Linked DNA regions of Homo sapiens: region 2 is linked to region 1. The links are contacts of gene promoters, found by promoter capture Hi-C in human tissues and cell types (Jung and others, 2019). All regions are on one chromosome and are shown on one strand. Each heading gives the region's core, a stretch centred on a gene start or on the middle of the fragment in contact. The rest is flanking DNA. Distances are from core to core; before and after follow the strand shown.

Evidence for each region. Contacts are between HindIII fragments. The study calls those that stand out against the background at their distance.
Region 2: a contact is called between a fragment that was not itself captured here and the fragment with the promoter of LINC00955 in region 1, in 6 of the 25 tissues and cell types used here (dorsolateral prefrontal cortex, heart right ventricle, lymphoblastoid cells and 3 more).

The regions. Positions count from the first base shown.
Region 1 is chr4:3,574,258-3,578,869 of GRCh38, reverse strand. It overlaps LINC00955 (long intergenic non-protein coding RNA 955), which reads right to left and starts at 2,001. Exons shown (of 3, transcript NR_040045.1): 1 at 1,747-2,001. The HindIII fragment of the contact is 13,427 bases long and covers 1-4,612 here.
Region 2 is chr4:3,734,764-3,739,375 of GRCh38, reverse strand. No RefSeq gene overlaps it. Among named protein-coding and RNA genes, the nearest start is that of ADRA2C, 29 kb to the left of the region's middle. The HindIII fragment of the contact is 4,235 bases long and covers 494-4,612 here.

The sequences.
Region 1 (4,612 bases), core at 752-3,251:
ATGGGTAGATGGGTTGATAGGTGGTTGTTTGAGTAGGTGGATAGAATGGATGGATAGAAGTTTTATGAGGGTATGGGTGAATGGGGAGTAGTGGATAAGTAGGTGAAGCAGTCAATGGGTAAGTGAGTGAATGTGTAGGAGGATCATGCATGAATGGGTGAGTGGATGTCATGGGTATATGGGTATAGGAGAGGTAGATAAGTATGTGTACAGATGGGCAAAGGGAAGGATGTGGGCGTGTTATGGGGTGGTTGGGTAGGTTGACGGATGGATGGGTGGATAAGTATTGTGTTACATGGGAGAAAACAAGTTTAGTTAGGTTGATGGGTGAATGGATGAGTGAGTAGTTGGATATAGACATGGAAGCTGGCTAGCTGGGTGGATGGATGATGGGTGAGTGAATGGATGGGTGGGTGATGAAAGAAAGGGAGGACGGATGGGTGGATGGATGGATGAGTGAGTGAATGAATGGATAGGTGGGTGAATGGAATAGGTGGATGGATGGATGGACGGATGGATGGATGGATGGATGGATGGATGGATGGATGGATGATGAAAGAAAGAAAGCATGAAAGGATGGGTGGGTGAATAGAATAGGTGGATGAATGGATGGATGGTTGGAAGGATGGATAGATAAGTGAATAATGAATGGGTGGACGAATATGTGGATGAATGGATGGATGGGTGGATAGATGGATGATGAAAGAAAGAAAGGGTGAATGGATGGGTGGATGGGAGAGTGAATAAATGAATGGGTGGATGAATGGGTAGATGGATGGATGGGTGGATGGATGAATGAATGAGTGAGAGGATGGGTGGGTGATGAAAGAAAGGAAGGATGAAAGGGTGGACGGGTAGGTGGATGAATGTATGATAGGATGGAAGCTGGCTGGATGTGGGGGTGGATGAGTTGAATGGACAGATGGGTAAGAGGGTGAGTAAGTGGGTGGATGGTGAAGGAATTAATAATGTTATTATTATAAACATTATTATTATTATATGAATAAGTTTCTGGTTTAGAAGACTAGTATCCTTCTGAGAGCTCTCTCAGAGTGTCAGGCTCTACAAATTTGCTTCCTTGGGCTGCCCCTCTCTGGGTTGTTTCCCCATTTGCTCCATGAGTGTGAAGGAGTAGATTGGCCAGATTAGCTGCGCCTGCTCCAGGGGCCCAGCCCAAGCCCAGGTGCCTGGGAGTCACACTCCAGGACACTCGACCCCTGCCCTCTGGGGCCAGGGTCAGCAGCCTCTGGCCAGACCCCTCTTCTTAAAACAAGCTCAGGTAGGGAGAGAACACTGCCCTGCTGGTGGTTGCCATGGAAAATCCTTCATTGCTTGTTTTTCTCCTCGACTGATTAAGAAAAGGGAGTCATAAAATGACAGGGCGTCACTGGGCCTTGCCGCTGGCCAGCTTTGACTTATCCCCTGACATTTCCCAGGAGCCAGCTAACCTTTTCTGCCACAAATAGACTGAAGCGGGTCCCTTGAGGCAGTCTAGCCTGAACAGAGTCCATCTCAGGGGAGGTCAGGACCCGGGATACAGCAACAGGAGCCGGGTCATTCAAATAACCAGGAAGGAGAGCAGACAGTGCTGGGACCGAGAGCACAGCGAGGACCCTAAGGAAGCCACCAAAAAACAGCCTTCGCAACAGTCAGGACTGCTGTCAGGACCACCAGGCAGAGCCCAGGGAGCAAACACCTGCTCTCCCTCCCTGGGGTCCCCGCTGTGTTCCCAGGCATGACACTCACCTCCCAGAGCAGCAGCCTGGCCTCTGCTCCTCTCCGGGCAGAAACGACACAGGGATGCTCCCCAGTCAGTGTGCTGGGGTCCTAGGGGCGTTGGCGACGCCGGGGCAGGTTCCACCATAGATCCTGCTGCCTCAATCCAGAGGGCTTTCGGAAGGCGCCCCTGCTATGGCATCGCAGAGGGAGGAGACCCGGGATGTGGCCCAGCAGGGCTGTGTATACACCAAGATGCCTCCGTCTGCCCTTCCAGCTGTAAATCAAGACTCAGCCGTGGAGAGGGAGGATAAAGTCCACAGGGGCTGAACCTCCTCCCCAGCCCTGGTCTCAGCCTCAGGATAGAAGACTTTAACCCCAGAAGGCCCTCAGGAGGCCAGGCAAGCCAACACCCTCGAACCTGTGCCACGATGGGGGGCGATGGGGCGAGGACAGAGCCTGGAGTCACAGACCAGGAAACTGGGTTGCCTCAGCTCACCCAGGGTCCCAAGGCCAGGACAGGGCAGAGCCGAGACCAAAGTCCCTGCGAGGCCGCCCTCATGAAGGGACTCGGGAGGGTTCACTGGGTGAATGGATGAGCCTGTACAGTGAATGAAGGCCGAGCCCACGGCTGGGAGCTGCCATCCCCGGCTTCCTCTGAATACAGACAGCCTGATGCGCAGGTCTCAGATCTGGAAGGGGGCCTGGGCCCCTTGACCCCATCTCTTCATTTACTGCTGGGGAAACCGAGGGCCAGCCTGCCACAGTAATGCCGTGGGTGCCTGAGTCATCTCCTCCTCCTCCTCTTCCTTCTCCTCCTCCTCCTCTTCCTCCCCCTTCCTCATCTCCCCCTTTCCTCCTTCTCTTCCTCTTCCTCCCTTCCTCCCACCCGTCTCCCTCTCCTGAGCCCCAGCTCTGCTCTGCCACCAGGCCTTGTCCCTTTTAGGGTCCAAAAGAGCAGGTCCTGCCCTGGGGCCAGTCAGCATGAAAAGGGATGACCATCTCTTCCTCCAGAGGACAGGGACTCTATGCCCCAGGCACTCCAAGGTCAAACCTGGCTCCCACTCAGACTATGAAGACAGCATCCACTGGGTCAGAGTCATGAAGCCACGGGTCCCAGGGGACAGCTCAGGTGGCCACAGGGCCAGACTGGCAGGCTGCCCTCTGCCTCCTGTTAGCACAAACACCCCTCCCCTCAGGCCTGAACTCTGACATGAGCCAGTGGGCACCGGGCCCTGTCAGGAACAGGAGGAGGCCACAGCCATCCTCAGGAGAGAACAAAGGACACACAGGCCTCCGGGGAGAGCAGTGGGTGGCAGTGACAGGAGGGGCTACTCAGAATTCATGAGCGAGGGCCAGGCAGCTTGGCCACCTTGGAGGAGCCGCTGCACCTATCCAAGCCCAGGTTTCCCTGCTGAAGGCAGCACCGGTGTCTCCTCCTGGGGGTGTTGAGAGGGTCATCCCAGGCCAGGGAGGTCGAAGGGCTCTGTGAGCTGTGAAGCGCTGGGCACCTGTGGGGCGGGGGCGTTCATCCTGCGGTCAGTCTGCCCTGGAGGGCGGAACACCTACGCACTGTTCCAGCGGGAGGGGTATGGCGTCCAGTGAGGCCCAGCTCCCCGAGCCTTTCCTGATGGCACTGGAAGACAGGCAGCATCCCAGAAACATATAAAAGGCCCAGGGGCTGGTGCTGGGGGCACATGACCGGGGCGACCCTGGGCTGGGCTGTGTACCCCCGGAGCACTGCAGCAGACAGAGCAGGGGTGCGAACTCCAGGGTCCCAGGATCCATCTCCTTCCCTGCAACAAACCCCTCTCTGCTGGAAATCCCTGGAGCGGTTCCTCCATCCTGCTCTGAACCTCCTTGACTGATCCCACCGACCGGTGCACTGCACAGCTGCCTGGAGACCAGAAGATTCCATACGTCTCCCTCCACCTGCCCAACACCCACAAGCCCAGGAGGCTGCCCTCCATAATTCTGGCTTTTCTGCGTATTTTTCAAAGCACAGGGCACTGGAAGAATGCCTGCATGAGACATTCTTGCAAGCCAGAGCCCGCTGGAGGCATGCAGGAGAGCAAAACCTCCCTGCTGTGTCTGCAGATTTGCACACATTTCTGGGAAATAAACCTGCGGCCCCTCCTCTCCCCGAGACGTTGGTTTATCTTCCAGGGCAAAAGGATACCGTCTTTTCTGTGGCAAAGATGGGGGCGAGATGGCTAGCAGTCCCCTTAGAAGATCAAGGGTTTCCTCGGCTGACACAAACCTGCTCTGTTTGCCCCCTGAGATGTGGGGGACAAGGCAGAGGGATAAGGACATGCTGTACCCTGAGTAATAAATGGTCAGGACCCTTCAGGCTTGTCGCTTCCTTACTGGTCACGTTTATGGAAGTGTGGCGCAAACGTGGCCGCTACTTGGTCAAGTGACTGCGAGTTCCCGTGCGTCTCGGGTCACCAGTGTTTCTCCCTGGCTGTGCCCACACCTCACCTGGCCTCCCAGGCCCTGTCTCCCTGAGCTTCTCACAGCACGCTCCCTCGCGGTCTGTGTACCGCCTCTTGGGTCGCCTTCCACACCTTGAAGCAGGAGTGTGAGTTCCTTCCGCGGACCCGGTGCGGGCTCCTGTGGCCCCGCTCAGCCCGTTCTCATCCTTCAGGGAGTCTCAGATTATTTTTGTTTGTTGTTTCTTTTTTTTTCCTTCCAACTTCTATTTGAGGTTCTAGGTATACACGTGCAGGTCTGTTACACGGGTAAACCGCGTGTCACGGGGTCTTGGTGTACAGATTATTTCATCACCCAGGCACTGTGCATTGTACCGACAGGTGGTTTTTTTTTGTTTTTTTTTTTTGTTTTTTGTTTTTTGTTTTGTTTTTTTTTCTGAGATGGAGTCTTGCTCTGTCACCAA
Region 2 (4,612 bases), core at 1,362-3,861, 160 kb before region 1:
CCCATCCTCTACCCAGCTCCTGGTGGCGCCAGCAGCCGCGGCCGCTCCTTGGCTTGAGGAAGTGACACCCCGACCCCTGCCTTCTTCCTCCCACGGCACTCTCCCTCCGTGCCTGTGTCCAAATCTCCCCCTTTATAAGGACATCAGCCAGATTGAATTAGGGGCTTCCCTATCCCAGCATGACCTCATCTTAACTCATGACATCTCCAACGACCTTATTTCCAAATAAGGGCCCACTCTGAGGTCCTGGGGTTGGGACTTCAATATGAATTTTGGGATAACACAGTTCCCCCATAACCCCAAGCATGGGCCCAATTTGCCCACTGCACGGGGCAGAACTAAAGCCCCACGCCGCCCCTACCCTCTTTGCAGGGGGTCAAGGCCATGCAGAGCTCCCTGGCCTCCCCCAGGGAAGACCTGACCTCCAGGCCAAGCAGCTCACCCAGGTCCCTCTCCAACCCCACCCGGAGCTCTCTTTGACAAACGCAGAGGTTGCATCTTATCATCTCATGGCCTCTCCGGCCCTGTGGGCGCCGCTTGTAGGCTGGCCCCGGGAAGCTGTCCAGTTTAAACCTAGCCAGGCGCGGTGGCTCATGCCTGTAATCCCAGCACTTTGGGAGGCCAAGGTGAGCGGATCACAAGGTCAGGAGATCGAGACCATCCTGGCTAACATGGTGAAACCCCGTCTCTACTAAAAAATAAAAAATAATTAGCCGGGCGCGGTGGTGGGCACCTGTAGTCCCAGCTACTGGGAAGGCTGAGGCAGGAGAATGGCATGAACCCAGGAGGCGGAGCTTGCAGTGAGCCGAGATCACGCCACTGCACTCCAGTCTGGGCAACAGAGCGAGACTCTGTCTCAAAAAATAAAATAAAATAAAAAAATTTAAAAATAAATAAATAAATAAACCTGGGGCAGCCGTCTCTCCAGGGTAAGCGACAGTGAATCACACCAGTGGACGGGCAAAGCCAGGGATGAGCAGGGCCCACTCCTCCGTGGGTGGCGAGGGAGCAGGCCACCTCACCTCCCCGGCTCTCTGCTGTAGCAGCCACTGAGGGTCTGCAGGAGTGCCACCCTCACCCCACCAGAAACGCCCCACCTTCCTGTCTCCTTTCCGCTCACTGTCCTCACAGCCTGTCCTATGCCCAGCCTTGCCTCAGTGGAGATGAATAAGCCACAGTCCACCCCTCCACTGTGTCACGTGGGACAGCCCTCTCAAGCCGCAGTCAGCCTCATCCTCACTGCCCTGGGGCCGGTGGTGACCTCCTACCTGCCCTCCTTACTGTGAGCGCCTCCCCTATCCAGCCCATCCTCTGAGCGGCCTCCAAAGGCCCCCCTAAAATGCCTGTCTCATCGTATCCCTTCCTGGCTTATCCAAACCCCAGTGGAATTACCAGGCTCTGTGCCCATCTCACCCCTCCTGAGACCCCACAGAAGAACAAGTGAGAACTGGTTCATGCCAGGAAGGAGCTTGGGAGGGATACAGGTGCCAAGCAGTGAGAGACGCCAACCAGTTTCTGGACCATGGAAAGGAATGGGAGTGGACTCTCGGTGAACGGAAGAGAAACCCACAGCCTGGCGTCTCCACGAGTGGCCGCAGGGGTGAAGCAGGGTGGGCTCCGGACTCAGAGCCCAGGGACAGCCAAAGGCAGGTGTGAGAGGAGGGGCTGGAGGGGACAACTGCCCCTCACCCCCAATTCCTCACTTGGAGTGAAGACAGGAAGCTTATACCCCAGGAAGTAAATTAGATTATTCTCCAAGCAACTCAAAAGAACTGCCTGTGGATACCAGCAGGCCCCCCAAAGGCCTGTCTCCTTCCAGCTCCTGGGACACCAAGCGGGAGAGGTGGCCGCTTTGCCATTCCCTCAAAGCGGAGCTTCCAGGTGACACCTTGTCCTACCCCAGGGGAAAGAAGAGCTACTCAGACAAGAGCAGAGGTTGCTCCCGCCTGCCCCTGCCCAGCATCCCTCCAACAGCCTGAAACGGCAGCATGGACCTCAGGGGAAGCAGGGGCTCTTGAAACAAGTCCCAGCACATTAAGCTTAAAAACAAGAACTTCTAATGAAAGTGCTCAGAGGACTCATGAAAATATCACAATCATAGGAAGACACAAATAGAAACAATGAGAGAACAAGAAAGAACACTGGGAGGTTGAAATACAATTGCCAAAATACAAACTTCAGCAGAGAATATGGAAAATAAAGTCGAGAACATCCACCAGAATTTAGATTAAAACAAAAGTAAAGGACCAAACCAGAGGACCTAATATCGGACAGACAGAGTCCCAATAAGAAACACAGGAAACAGAGGGAGACGATGGCCAGGGAATTCACAGAACAGATGGTACAGCACCAGTGTCACGATTTCTTCCATTTCCTGTGGCCTTCCCTGGATGGTGGGAGGAAAATAGCCCATAGCCAGAGGCATCGTTGCTGAATTTCCAATCTCCATGGATGGCTTCCAAATTTCCAGGAAAAGAAAACAGGTGAGCCACAAAGGGAGCAGAATCAGAAGGACTTTTTTTTTTTGAGACAGAGTCTCACTGTCACCAGGCTGGAGTGCAGTGGCTCGATCTCGGCTCACTGCAACCTCTGCCTCCCGGGTTCAAGCCATCTTCCTGCCTCAGCCTCCAGAGTAGCTGGGACTACAGGCACGCACCACCACACCCAACTAATTGACTTTCTAGATCTCACTGGCAACACTGGAGTCTGGGGAGAAGATGCTTTCTCGGTTCTGAGGCAAGTAATGTTCGACCTGGCATTCTATACACAGTCAAATGGTTTATCAAGTGAGAGGACAGAATAAAAACATTTTCACAAATGCCAGAGCACACGTATTTGTTTTTCATACCCTTGTTGCTAGGAAGTTACTTGAGGATGTGCTCCAGCAGGAGCAGGTGGCAAAACAAAGAAAGGGAAACACAGGCACTATGACTCTGTAGATCCAGCTCTGTGTGGAGGGAAGGGAAGGTCGGGAATAGTGGAGCAGACCTGGGGACAACCAGTCCACACTGGAACAGACACCAGGGGATGCGGGGAGGCTTCTGGGCAGCAGGGGGTGGGACAGAATGGATGTTATGATGGAGAAACAACGATTTTGAGGGAGAAAAATAATGATAAATAAAGGCATACATATAAAAATTGGGTCATTAAATCTCCACGAAAACAAGAAATCACACAGGAGACTTGGGGAAAGACTGAAATGTGATATGATCTGGAACAATGAGTGGAGAATGAGTAAAGAACCCATTTGGCTGGGGGCGGTGGCTCACGCCTGGAATCCCAGCACTTTGGGAGGCAGAGGCAGGCAGATCTTTTGAGCCCAGGAGTTTGAGACCAGCTTGGGCAACATGGCGAAACCCTGGACCATGCCTGTGGTCCTAGCTACTCAGGAGGCTGAGGCAGGAGGATTGCTTGAGCCCAGGAGCTTGAGGCTGCAGTGAGCCAAGATCATGCCACTGCACTCCAGCCTGGGCGACAGAGCGAGACCTTGTCTCAAACAAACAAAAAAATAACCCACTTGCTCTGCAGTTACCCTCAAATTCCCAGGGATTGTGGGAGAAGACGTCACGGCAGGCCTGGCCTCACCCTGAGTGATACTTACACAGTCATCACCATCCACACACTCCTGGCTGATTTTTGAATGTCAAGGCATCTCAGGGCCAGGCCTAGTAGGGCCAGGCATGGTCCCAGGACCGAGGACACCCCCAGCCTGGACGCTGTGGAGGGACGTGGGAGGTGGAGCTGGGTCTGTGGTTGGACCCACAGCTTTTTGGGATTCTGTTCGTTTGCCCACCGGCTCCTCTGGCTTCCATCGCTCTCCTGCACTAGAACGTAAGCTTCATGGGGCTGAGCCCAAGACCGTCTTGTCCCCTCCTGCTGGGGCCTCCTCACATGGAACCTGGGGCCAGGTGTGCACTGGGCCACATTCACGGGCAACCGACTGAGCTCCTGGGCCACCCAGCCCCTGGGAAGAGCCAGCTGCCACAGTCACAACCTCGTCCCCAGGTCACAGCCGCTGCTAGGCCCTCGCACTCCTCCAGAGCTCCAGGCCCATCCCTGTGCCGCGTCTCCTGACAGCCTCGCCTCTGCCCCACCTGGCCCATGGGATGGGCCTTCTCCCCTAGAGCCTGGGGGTCTAGCTGCGTCCTCCAGGGTGAGAGGGCACTGCCTGGTACATAGGGTGCTCAAGGCCACCTCAATACTGTCTATAAAACTGGGTTTGCCCCACTAAGCACCATGGTGATGTCGTCTTTCCAAGCCACAGCCTTTGCCTCCATCAAGGGGGTGGGAATTGGGGCCAAGGGTTTAAGCCAAGTTTTATGAAAACGACTGGGTGAAACCTCCACACTGCAATGCCTGTTACACAGTCTCCCGCACCCCACACCACGCGCCTTCACACACACACGGGGAATGAGCGTCTCTCGTCTCCGGGGTGGCTGATGGGACCTCAGGGGCACCTTCCTTGGGGCCATCCCACTTTATGCCCTTCCCTCCTTTCTGGCAACAGACCTCTGCTTTTGCTGTCATCTGACTATGCCTGATCCCACGGTCCAGTCTGCCCAGGTCTCTGGGTGGGCACCTGACCTAGGTGAGCCCACTCCCCAGCCACGGG